2 separate regions of the Homo sapiens genome follow, and region 1 is linked to region 2. Evidence: promoter capture Hi-C in 16 types of primary human blood cells and fetal thymus (Javierre and others, 2016). All regions are on one chromosome and are shown on one strand. Each heading gives the region's core, a stretch centred on a gene start or on the middle of the fragment in contact. The rest is flanking DNA. Distances are from core to core; before and after follow the strand shown. Region 1 holds the start of TREH (trehalase). Region 2 holds the start of DDX6 (DEAD-box helicase 6).

Evidence for each region. Contacts are between HindIII fragments. The CHiCAGO score rates a contact against its expected background, and 5 or more counts as called.
Region 1: a contact is called between the fragment with the promoter of TREH here and the fragment with the promoter of DDX6 in region 2, in 4 of 17 cell types (non-activated CD4 T cells, naive CD4 T cells, naive CD8 T cells and 1 more). The highest score is 7.3, in non-activated CD4 T cells.

Annotation. Positions count from the first base shown.
Region 1 is chr11:118,677,709-118,683,856 of GRCh38, reverse strand. It overlaps TREH (trehalase), which reads left to right and starts at 4,207. Exons shown (of 15, transcript NM_007180.3): 1 at 4,207-4,318. The coding sequence starts at 4,230. RefSeq lists enhancers at 3,656-4,315, 4,316-4,977. The HindIII fragment of the contact is 8,736 bases long and covers 1-6,148 here.
Region 2 is chr11:118,787,628-118,794,122 of GRCh38, reverse strand. DDX6 (DEAD-box helicase 6) reads left to right here and starts at 2,959. Exons shown (of 14, transcript NM_004397.6): 1 at 2,959-3,025. RefSeq lists enhancers at 1,074-1,183, 1,572-2,127, 2,744-2,853, 4,164-4,343, 3,802-4,359 and silencers at 2,184-2,473, 2,924-3,253, 3,884-3,963. The HindIII fragment of the contact is 4,863 bases long and covers 2,776-6,495 here.

The DNA.
Region 1 (6,148 bases), core at 2,958-5,457, 110 kb after region 2:
TTATCATAAGGTACTTGCACTACCATGAAATGTAGTGTTATTTGAGTAGACTTGGTTAGTTGTAAACATATAATACTAAAAAAAGAACTGCTGGAGGCCGGGCGTGGTGGCTCATGCCGGTAATCCCAGAACTTTGGGAGGCTGAGGTGGGTGGATCATGAGGTCAGGAGTTCAAGAACAGCCTGGCCAATATGGTGAAACCCCATCTCTACTAAAAATACAAAAATTAGCCGGGTGTGGTGGTGGGCGCCTGTAGTCCCAGTTACTCAGGAGGCTGAGGCAGGAGAATCACTCGAATCCAGGAGGCGGAGGTTGCAGTGAGCCAAGATCATGCCATTGCACTCCAGCCTGGGTGATAGAGCAAGACTTCGTCTCAAAAAAAAAAAAAAAAAACACTACTGGCTGGGCATGGTGGCTCATACCTGTAATCCTAGCACTTTGAGAGGCCAAGGTGGGAGGATTGCTTGAGCCCAGGAGTTTGAGACCAGCCTGCGCAATATAATGAGGTGTTCCCCCAGAACAAAGCCAGTCTGCATAATGGGCAGAAGATCTGAATCACTATAAACCTTGCTTAAAAGAAGACATACAAGTCGCAAACAGGTATATGAAAAGGTGCGCTACATAACTGATCATCAGAGACATGCAAATCAGAACTACAATGAGATATTATCTCACTACGGTTAAAATGGCTTTTATCCAAAAGACAGGCAATAACAAATGCTGGTGAGGATGTGGAGAAAAGGAACCCTCATATACTGTTGGTGAGAATGTAAGTTAGTACAATCACTGTAGAGTCATGTGTTTTTTTAAAGAACATTGGCTGGGCACGTTGGCTCATGCCTGTAATCCTAGCACTTTGGGAGGCCAAGGCGGGTGGATCACCTGAGGCCAGGAGTTCGAGACCAGCCTGGCTAACACGGTGAAAACCCATCTCTACTAAAAATACAAAAAGTAGCTGGGTGTGGTGGTGGGCGCCTGTAATCCCAGCTATTCACGAGGCTGAGGCAGGAGAATCGCTTAAACCTAGGAGGCAGAGGTTGCAGTGAGCCAAGATCATGCCACTGCACTCCAGCCTGGGCAACACAGCGAGACTCCATCTCAAAAAAAAAAAAAAAGATGTTTAATTTTATGTGTCAACATGGCTAGGCAAAGGTATCCAGATAGTTGGTCAAGCATTATTCTAGATGTTTCTGTGAAGATATTTTTTAGATGAAAATAACATTTAAATTTGTAGACTTTGAGTAAAGCAGGTTACCCTCCCTAACTTGGATGGGCCTTATCCAATCAGTTGAAGACTTTAATTTGAAAAAGACTGACCTCCCCAGAAGAAGAAGGAATTCTCTCAGCATGCTGCCTTCAGACTTGAACTGCAGCTTCTTCCCTGTTTCTCCAGCCTGCCAGCCTACCCTAGAGATTTTGGACTTGCCAGCTACCTCTCAAACTCTCTCTCTCTACCCCCATCCCCCATATATGTATTGTTTCTGCCTAATACGGTCCAGGACCAGATGGCTTCATTGGTAAATTCTACCAAACATTTAAAGAATTAACAATCCTTCTCAAACACTTCCACAAATAGAAGAGGGGCATATTTCCTAACTCATGCTATGAGGCTAACATTACCCTGATATTAAAACCAGATAAAGACATCACAAGAGGGCTGGGCATGGTGGCTCACACTTGGGGAGAAACACTTTGGGAGGCCAAGGCGGGAGGATCACTTGAGGCCAGGAGTTCAAGACCAGCCTGGGCGACACAGTCAGATGTAGTCTCTACAAAAAAATTTAAAAATTACCCAGGCGTGGTGGCATGCACCTGTAGTCCTGGCTACTCAGAAGGTTGAGGCCAGATGACCACTTGAGCCCCAGGAAGTCGAGGTTGTGGTGAGCTGTGTTCATGCCACTGTATTCCAGCCTGCTGGGTGATGGAGCAAGACTATGTGTCCAAAAAAAAAAAAAAACAAAACAAAACAAGGAAAGAAAATTACAGTCAAATATGCTCTATACATATTGATGCAAAATTCCTCAAAAAAATACTCGCAAGCCAAAACCAACAGTTTATTAAAAGGATTAGACATCATGACCAAGTGAGATTTATCCAAAGAATGCAAGGGTGGTTGCACAGCATTGTGAATGTAATAAAAGGAAATTGAATTGTACACTTAAAAATTGTTGACCAGGCATGGTGGCTCACACCTGTAATCCCAATACATTGGGAGGATGAGGCAGGAGGATTGCTTGAGCTCAGGAGTTCCACACCAGCCTGGACAACATAGGGAGACCCAATCTCTAAAAAAAAAAAAATTATTTTTAATTTAAAAATTAGTTGGGCGTGGTGGCATGTGCCTGTGGTCCCAGCTGCTCAGGAGGCTGAGGTGGGAGAATCCCTTAAACCTGAGAGATCAAGGCTGCAGTGAGCTGTGATGGAGCCACTGCATGCCAGCCTGGGCAACAGAGCGAGACCCTGTCTCAAAAAACAAAGCAAACAAAAAAAACAATGCCAGCTGCCCACATTACTGGGTGGAGCTATCTGAACCTTTACTAGTTCAGAGTGGTGCCTGATTCATGAGTCATTTCTTTGCTTGAATAAATGGTTAAATTTAATTTGTCTAAGGTTTTTCTTTTTAATAGCAGTAAACACTGCTCAGGTGCCACAACTGACATCCTTAACTGCAAACCTAAGTCCTTCAGGAGAGGTCATGCCTATCATTAAACTCCATGTGCCTTGCCCACCCCCTGTCCCCTGTCCCTTCAGCTCACCTTCCATATGTTGAGGGGATGAGCCTCCTAAAGTAACCGAATCTGCTTTTTTTTTTTTTTTTTTTTTTTTGAGACAGAGACTTACTCTGTCGCCCAGGCTGGAGTGCAGTGGCATGATCTCGGCTCACTACAACCTCTGTCTCCCGAGTTCAAGCGATTCTCCCACCTCAGCCTCCTGAGGAGCTGGGATTACAGGTACCCGCCATCATGCCCAGCTAATTTTTGTATTTTTGTAGAGACGGGGTTTCACCATGTTGGCCAGGCTGGTCTTGAACTCCTGACCTCAGGTGATCCACCCGCCTCGGCCTCCCAAAGTGGTGGGATTACAGGCATGAGCCACTGCACCCAGCCTGAATCTGCTTCTTAAGCTCACAAACTTCTCTGCTGGTTCCACTTTGGGGAATTACAAGGAATTACATTCCTTGGCTTGGCAAAGACCATTTCCAGACTGGTGCCAACATGTTCCTCCAGTCTATCTCAAAACCCTTCCCTGCATGAACACCAAGTTCTCTGCAGCTAGGCTGAGGGGTTTGCTCTTCTCTTCACATGCTCTGCATACATTGTAGTGGTCTCCAGCCCATTTCCCTTGGCAAACTCCTATGCGGTCATCAAGACTCATTAGGACTGGCGCAGTGGCTCACGCCTGTAATCCCAGCACTTTGGGAGGCCAAGGCGAGCAGATCATGAGGTCAAGAGATTGAGACCATCCTGGCCAACACAGTGAAACCCCGTCTCTACTAAAAATACAAAAATTAGCTGGGCGTGGTGGCGGGCACCTGTAGTCCCAGCTATTCAGGATGCTGAGGCAGGAGAATTGCTTGAACCCGGGAGGCGGAGGTGGCAGTGAGCTGAGATCACGCCACTGCACTCCAGCCTAGCGACAGAGTGAGACTCAGTCTCAAAAAAAAAAAAAAAAAGACTCATTACAAATGACACACTATTGTGGGTCTCCCTTAGTCCTCCCCAGACAGAATGGTTCTACTGTCCTGTGCTTCCGCTGTATCTCTTGCAGATAACAGTGAGAGGCCCTGAATTTCACACCACACCAGGGACAGGATCTTGAGCCATTCCATTTGAAATGTTAAGGGAAATGGTAACTCTCTGAGGTTGGTGGTCTTGGGGCCACCCAAGGAACCTGGCATCCAGGTTACAGGTGTGTGGCCTCGACTGTGTCCCTGGCCTTTGGGTGCCCACTCCCCACCCCCACCACCATGCTCTGAGGGAAGGGCCTGAGCCATTGGCACCAGCTGAGACTGTGAAATAGAAGAGGCAAAGTAGAAGCAAGGGAGGTGGCCACTGTGCCCTGAGAGCAGGAGGGGCAAGCGGGCCACACACAGACCAAGCACACGTCCCCTCAGGTGGCCACGCCTCAAAGGCTGGACTTTGGCCGACTTGGACAGGCAGGTGAGCCAGGCTGTGCCCAGCAAGCCGAAGGTGCCTGGGCTTGCTCATTCAGTCACAGTCACAGCCACCATGCCAGGGAGGACCTGGGAGCTGTGCCTGCTACTGCTGCTGGGGCTGGGACTGGGGTCCCAGGAGGCCCTACCCCCACCCTGTGAGAGGTAGGGGTGTGGGGAAGGCAGCAGGGGAGGATGGCAATAAGAGGGAGGCTGGGATGAGATCTCAAGCTCTGGGGTCGGTACTTCAGAGGGAAAGGAAGAGATTATAAAGGAAGGAAAGAGTAGGGAAGAGAAGAAAATGAGAATTCCTATGTAGCAGGCTCTGTGCTGGGCACTGCACCTGCAGTCCGTTTTTTTTGTTGTTGTTGTTAGAGTCTTGCTCGGTCGTCCAGATGGAGTACAGTGGCACCATCTCCACTCACTGCAGCCTAGACCTCCCGGGTTCGAGAGATTCTCGTGCCTCAGCCTCCTGAGTAGCTGGAATCACAGGCATGCACCACCACGCCCAGCCTGTCATTGATTTTTACCAAAATTTTCCACCGTTGGAAGGGACATTAGGCTTGGCGACTGTGCTGGGAATACAAGCGTGAGCCACCGCCCCCTGTCGGGACCTGCAGTCCTGATACCAGACGCAGCTGCCAGAGCCTGGCCTGAGGTCCAAGAGCCTGCTGGCCAGAGCCCGCCCTCCCTTCCTCTCCTCCTCCAAGCTGCCCCTTGAACTGTGCAGGCCTCTTCTCAGGATTGTTCTAGCAAACTTTCTGCTCCAGCTTCCTAGTCTGGGTGTGAGAGGCAGCCTAAGGGCCTGAAGACAGCACTTGGGCTTGAGCCCTGACCCTCATATTCTCTCTGTGACCCAGGGCAGGTCAAGGCTCTTTCCTGAGCCTGAGTTTCCATCACCAGGGACAGAGATGAGTGACCCTGTCCTGTCTCCTGGACTCAGGCGATGTCCACCCTTCGTTCCACATGGATTTATGGAGCTGTGGCCACATCAGCCACTTTACCAGCTCCTGCAAGAACAATAATAATAGAAGAAAAACAGCTGGGCACGGTGGCTCATGCCTGTAATCCCAGCACTTTGGGAGGCCAAGGTGGGAGCTATCATCTGAGGTCAGGAGTTCGAGACCAGCCTGGCCAACATGGTGAAACCCCATCTCTATGAAAAATACAAAATTAGCCGGGCATGGTGGCGCACGCCTGTAATCCCAGCTACTCGGGAGGCTGAGGCAGGAGAGTCGCTTGAACTTGGGATGTGGAGGTTGCAGTGAGCCAAGATCATGCCATTGCACTCCAGTCGGGGCAACAAGAGCAAAACTCTATCTCAAATAATAATAATAATAATAATAGAAGCAAAACAGTAACAGAAGCACAGTTTGAAGTAGAGAGAAGTTAGGGCCCGCTGGTGTGGGTGAGCAGAGGGTGTGTTAGAGAGGATGGGGAGGGACGGTGTCTCTGAGGAGGTGATGTGTAAGCAGAATTGTGGCAGGAACCATTGCTGAGCTGATCTGGGAGAGGACAGTCCAGGCATGGAAAGGGCCATGCAGAGGCCCTGACGCACTGTTCAGGGATTGGGACGAAGGCCTGTGTGATTGGGGCAGAGTGGGAACAGGTCCGGGGAGAGCGGGGCTCCAGGCAACAAGGTTTGGGCTTGGGTTCCAGTGGTTAGACTAGAGACAGAGACAAGGGGTTCAATAGAGGGTGTGTGTTACAGGGAGAGTTGACAGTGCTTGCCCATGACAATTGTGGAATATAAAGGGGAAAAGTGTACCTGGGATAATTAATAGGTTTTGTCCTGAGCAATTGTAATGAGGACTTCAGAGAGGCTGGGTGGTCCAGTGCTTTGTCAAGCATTAGGCTGTTTGCCAAATGTAGGGGAAGATGACTTTACTGGTGTTCCCTAAGACCAACCTCAGGCCAGTGATTCACTAACACTTCCAAATGGTTATACCATGATTATGGTTTCATTTTTTTTCTTTTTTTGAGACAGAGTCTCGC
Region 2 (6,495 bases), core at 1,710-4,209:
TAATAGGTGAGTTCATTAGGGATGATAGCACACCCTTCAGAAACCGTATTTACTACAGATCTCCCACAACTATCACACTCAATACTAACTAAAAGGCCAGAGGATTGGATTCATATAACTTTTTTAAAAGTACACATATATTTTATAAATATAAGGATATTATTTGCACTAGCAATTTATCTGTATTCCTAAAGTGTCATACAAATGATTCTTGCAAATCTGTTTTAACTAGGGAGAAAACAATGTATTGAGATAGTTGGACTAGACCTATCTACCACTAACACTAAACTTGGAAGAAAAGATCCAAGAGTTCATAGCTTAATTCTAAACCATCTATGCTTCTCACTTGAAAACAGAGAAGGGCTGATGTAAATGAGTTGTGAGGGTATCTGACTACCTTAAAAGCAGAATATTTGAAGGTTTTAGCCCTGGAAGGATTCCTAGGTGAGAAGGCAGCACCTATTTCATATTCTACTTTTGGTTGCCTCCTGGCTTTTGTTTTGTGACCTCAACCAGACTCCTTGTGTAGGTTACAATTTATTTGTGGATGTGAACCCGGGCTCCTTTTGTAGGTTATAGTTTATTTGTGGGTGTGAACCCCCTTCCTTTGCCTGGTTCAATTTCTTCAGTGGTTTAGGAAAGACACCCCTCCAAGCAGTGGCCTGTTTTAAATCCGTAGGCCTCTCTTCCTACCACTCACTTCTTGGCCCAACCCCCCTTCACATTCCTCTGCTTGGGAAGATATTGGGGCAAAAAAGGCCTCATACATTTTTTATTAAGAAACCATTTTCTCTCTAGGATGGGCACAAGGTGCAGGGCTATTTCCTTACATTAGAAGGTATTTTAAAACCTGGGCTGGAGACGCCATGCTGTAAATTTAAAATAAAAAAAAAATGTAAGCCGAACCTTCTTTTTAACCTTAAGAATAGTCTTCACTATTCTCCACCACCTTCCCACCGGCTGTGTAGAAATAACGACCACCAAATGAGAATAGGCTATTTACTCAGAGCTGGCAAGAGTCAGCCGCGACCCATCACTTGATTTAACAGACTCATAGGCAGGCAGGGGAGTGGAAAAGCTTTACATATACTGAAAAAAGGGAGAAACTTCAGGTTGGCTCTGATTGGAGGATGTTGGCATCGGGAAGTTGGAGGAGGGCTATACTAGAAGCAGGGCTTCTTACGCGATTGGTGTGAGGAGCACATTTGGCTTTCTCTGATTGGCCCAGAGCTGGAAGCAGGGGCAAGAAATAGGGAAGCTGCCGGTTAAAGATTAAGTCCTGACCCTTCTGGCCGATTACTGAAGAGGTTATGGGTAGGAGGTCATGGTTAGGTTTGGCCATTCTTTGTATATTCAGTCTCTCAATTGGGTGAGGATTAGATTTTGTTTCTCTTGACCTAGCTAGCTTTTAGCTCCAAAGTTTTGTTTAACTTGGAAGAAGACAGCAGTTCTATTATTTCTGTCAAGGATAAACACAGACATTGGGATCTGAAAAGTATTATGGGAACATACATAAATATCTTCATAGTGAGGGTCAGGCCGGAGAGTCACCCTTTGCCTTAAGCTTCTCCATTTCCTTACTGAATTCCTATTTCTATTATAACTGACGCTTCACTAGCTTCCCTCCCTTTAGTGGAGGGCCCGGCCTCCTCCGCCCCTACTTTCTTCAGTCTTGCCCTTCGAGGGCAGGAGAAGACGGTTGCGCCCTACTAACTCTTCACCTTACAGTCCAGCTTCTCCCCCCACCACCCCGGTGCGCTCTCTCGGTTTGCTACCCTCTCCACCAGGCCTCCCCACTCCACCTGCGCAACGCCCCCAGCTCCGTGCTCTCCGGAGTAATCCCCCCTCAGTCGCACTCTCACAGCCCGGCCCCTGCCCCCGCCTCACCCCCAGTTGTGCCTTCACCTCCCGGTTCCTCCTAGACAGGTCCCCCAAGATACGCCCTCACAGTCCGGTCCCCCGCCGTCCTCTCCCGGCGCACGCTCAAGTCCGGTGCCTTCCCCCCGCAGACCCCCGAGGCGCACCCTCAAGCTCGGTGCCTCTGCGCCCCCCGCAGGGGCGCCCTCAAGCCTGGTACCCTTCACATGAGAGCCCCCCGGGCGCACCCTCAAGCTCGGTGTACCCCCCCATACCACCCGCAGGCGCGCCCTCATGCCCGAAGACTTCCCCCGCCCAGGTGCACCCTCAAGCCCGGTGCCTTCCCCCACAACCAGCGCCCCCAGGCGCACCCTCAAGCCCGGAGCCTACCCGCCGCCAGGCGCGCCCTACAGGCTCGCCCCGTCCCACCGCGCAGCGCCCCCCGCGCACTCTCTGGAGTCCTCCCTCCTGCCTGGTGCGGCCTCCGGGCCCGGTCGGCCCCCCTTCCTGCCCCCACACTCAGACGCGCGCCCGGCGTCTCCGGGTCGCTAGTTCCGCGCCTTCCTGCATGGAGGCGCGCCCCGAGAGGCTCGGACGCGGCCCCTTAGGCCCGGCATCAGCCTCCCCGGCCAGCTGGAGAAGTCAGGTCAGCTTCCTGTCCCCGAGCAGCTGCCCGGGGGCCAGTTTTCAAAACATATCCTTAGTCATGTAATAAAGAGATGTTCCTCTGGTCTCAACTCCCGATTTTTACTTTGGAGGGGCGAAGGCAGGCCTACCCTTGCCAGCCACCATTTCTCAATCACGTCGCGGCTGTGGAAAAGCAGCCGTCCTGTCCCTTCAGAAAGGAACTCGTATTTCCCCCTCGAACTTTTCTCGTCGGTGTGAGAGAAGGGCCCTCCATTTTCTCCTCAGGAAGCTTTCGCGGCCCGACTTCCTCTCACCACCAGGCCAGGAAGGCAGTGACGCCGCGGCGAATATAGCCGCGGCGGCCGAGGTTTCGCCATCTTGAGTGGAGGAGGAGCCGCGGTCGCCGCCATGCGGAGAGGCAGGGAAAGAGGGAGGAGGCGGCGGGCGGGCGAACGGGCGAGCGAGGGAGGGGGCAGAGGAGCCGAGTTAGCTCAGCCAGGCGGCGACTTCGGCGGCGCCACGAGAGCGGGCAGCGGAGGAGGTAGGGCTGGACAGCCGGGGGAGCCGGCGGCTCGGGCGGCTGGCCTGCGCGCCCCTCGGAGCGGGGCGGGGGCGGGGGCGAGAGGAGGCCGTAGCGAGAGGGCTGGGTGGGGGCGGGCGGAGGTTTCCGAGGAGGAAGGAGCGTCCGCCATTTTGGGAGCTTCGAGTCAACAATAAAGGACCGAGGGTGCCGAGCGGGAGTGGCCTCGTTGGTAGGACACGGGCCCGAGTCGCGAGGCTTGGGGTGAGGTGGTGGGGTCGAGGTCAGCGGTGCTTTGGGGGCTGTGGGGAGCCCCCCGGGCCGGCTCTGGGGGACTCTCGGGCGGAGGCCTAAGGCCTGGCCGGGCCTGGGGAGGAAGGCGGTCGGCAGCTGTGTGGGGTGGGAGCGCCTGAGAGGAGGCGAATATAGGAATGTGGTGCGCAGCAGGGTCGGCAGGAGGAACAGGCTAAGTACTCGGAGTAGCTTTATCGAAGATGAGGGAATATGAGGCCGAAGGGGGCGGCAAGGACTTAGGGGGATGATGGTGGAGGTTATAGGGTACGAGGCGGCCCTATAGGGGGCGGCAGGGACATGCTGTATTGGAGGGCTCGGTTTAGAAGCAAACCGGCCGCTGCTTGATTGCAGTAGGCCTTGCGGGTCAATAACAAGAGGGTATTTATGGAGCCCCCGACTCTTGGAGGAAAGGAGGGGGATTTCTGGTTTAGGGGGTCCATTTGGGGCCTCCTTGGGGGAGTCCCTATTGTTTGCTACTAATGGAGCGGTTGCTGGCTCATATTGCGCAGATAAGATTGCAGAGCCCCAACCTTTTGTGTTTATGGTCAGAAGTGTGTGTGTTTGGGGCGTGGGGCGGGGTGCGGGGGGACAAGAAATTTCCTTTCAGTTACGGGGTTCCAGTCATTAGTCAATGACTCTTTCCCGTATCTCTCTCCTTTCTCTTCCTCAGCCCCCATTTCCCTTCAGAATAAAACCCAGTCACTCCAACTTGCAGGCAAAGCTAGAAAAACTGCGCTGCATTTGCAAACAAAAGCTCTTGTTGGCGATGACGATACTGTTTTGGGTGTGAAACTGTCAATTGCTAACTACGATCTGTGAAGTGCTGTAATTAACTCCGCTAGGGGCTCCTCCCAACTAGTCTACGTTTCTTGTTGTTTGTTTTTTGTTTTTTTGTTTTTTGTTTTTGAAAATGTAGAAAACTTGCAAATCTAAATTGGGAAGGGGTAGGAGGAATATTTCCTTCTCTGAGAAAAAGCTGCAGTGCAGGTTTCAGTTTAAGAAGGGAGCAGTTATCACATAGTCTCATTTTGGATTTAAGGATATAGGAGGTCTTACTGTGCATGATGGACAGTAATGATGATATCGTTCGGTCTTTAGAGGTTGCCCTTTTCATCCTCTTAGTGCTCTGCAAACAGCTAAGTCTCTGTGAACTGCGTGATATCGCTGATCATAATATAAAACCGTCAATACAGGAAAGTAGCTGTTAACCATATCTGCTTAAGAGGTCAGAGTCTGAAGTAAACAGCTTTGTGTATGTGATAATCAGGATTTGCTTGTGAGCAACTTGTTCATTTTTTTTTTAAGGAAGGCATAATCAAGGAGCATTTTCTTCATAAATGTTGAGATCTGTTGACTTTAAAATTTTGAGTTTCACATGCCTTGGTGTATGGCAGAAAGAATCAGCACTCGTAAGCTAGTGTATTTTATATAAGAAATGTAACGGGGTTGCTGGGAGCGGTGGCTCACACCTGTAATCCCAGCACTTTGGGAGGCCAAGACAGGCGGATCAGCTGAGGTCAGGAGTTCGATACTAGCCTGGCCAACATGGCAAAACCCCGTCTCTACTAAAAATAGAAAAAATTTAGCTGCGCGTGGTGGCAGGCGCCTGTAATCCCAGCTACTCGGGAGGCTGAGACAGGGGAATCGCTTGAACCCAGGAGGCGGCGGTTGCAGTGAGCCAAGATTGTGCCACTGCACTCCAACCTGGGCGGCAGAGCGAGACTCCGCCTCAAAAAAAAAAAAAAAAAAAAAGTGTAACGGGGTTAAATCAAAAGCCAACAGAGTAGGGCTTTGTTTTCGTGTCTTTGTATGTTTTTATTAACTCCAATTAAAAGTAAGATTTCAGCCGGGCACGGTGGCTCTCGCCTGTAATCCTAGCACTTTAGGAGGCTAAGGCGGGCAGATCATTTGAGGTTAGGAGTCCAAGACCAGCCTGGCCAACTTGATAACACCCCGTGTCTACTGAAAAATACAGAAATTAGCCAGACCTGTAATCCCACCAAGCTACTTGGGAGGCTAAGGCATGAGGATCGCTTGAACCTGCGTGGTGGAGGTTGCAGTGAGCTGAGATCGGGCTACTGCACTCCACTCTGGGCAACAGAGTGAGACTCTGTCTCAAAAATAATAGGCCGGGCGTGGTGGCTTACGTCTGTAATCCCAGCACTTTGGGAGGCCGAGGCGGGCGGATCACCTGAGCTCAGTTGTTCAAGACCAGCCTGGCCAACATGTCGAAACCCCGTCTTTACTAAAAATACAAAAATTAGCTGGGCATGGTGGCGCATGCCCGTAATCCCAGCTACTCAGGAGGCTGAGGCAGGAGAATGGCGTGAACCCAGGAGGCGGAGCTTGCAGTGAGCTGAGAGCGCGCCATTGCACTCCAGCCTGGGTGACAGTGCAAGATTCTGTCTCAAAAAATACAATAAAAAATAAAAGTAAGTAAGATTTCCATTTACGGGATAATTTTAAACTGAGGTTGACTAGTTTTGTGGGTTTTGTTTGTTTGTTTGCTTTGTTTGTTTTTAAGTCAGAGTATTGCTCTTGTTGCCCAGGCTGGAGTACAATGGCATGATCTGGACTCACTGCAGCCTCCACCTCCTGGGTTCAAGTGATTCTGCTGCCTCAGCCTCCTAAGTAGCTGAGATTACAGGGCCACCACGCCCAGTTAATTTTTGTATTTTAGTGGAACGGAGTTTCACCGTGTTGGTCAGGTGGTCTTGAACTCCTGACCTCAGGTGATCCACCAGTCTTGGCCTCCCAAAGTGTTGGGATTACAGGCGTGAGCTACCGTGCCCCTCCTACCAGTTCTTTTTTTTTTTTTTAAACTATTAATTAGCTTTACTACTCTGGATTTCTTGGAAAGTTTTCTTAAAATTACTAGTGTGTTTAGTCTTCCGCGGATTTTTTTTTAAACAGGAATTTTCCTGTTTTTTTAAATTTAAAATTAGAATAGTTATTAGCTAAGTTTGTTATAAATGAATAAAATTATTAGAGTCATCTTGGTTTTGTCAATTTCAAAATAAAAATTCATTTATACAAAATTTGTGTATATCATCCGTCCTTGGGATCATTACTTGCTGGATGCATTATGGCAGAAATACACTATTCTCTTGACTGCTTCATTTATTGTTTTAAAGGACAAAAAGGAAAAAAGAAAATACATTTTTCTTCTTAAAGTTTTTTGTTGTTTTTTGAGACAA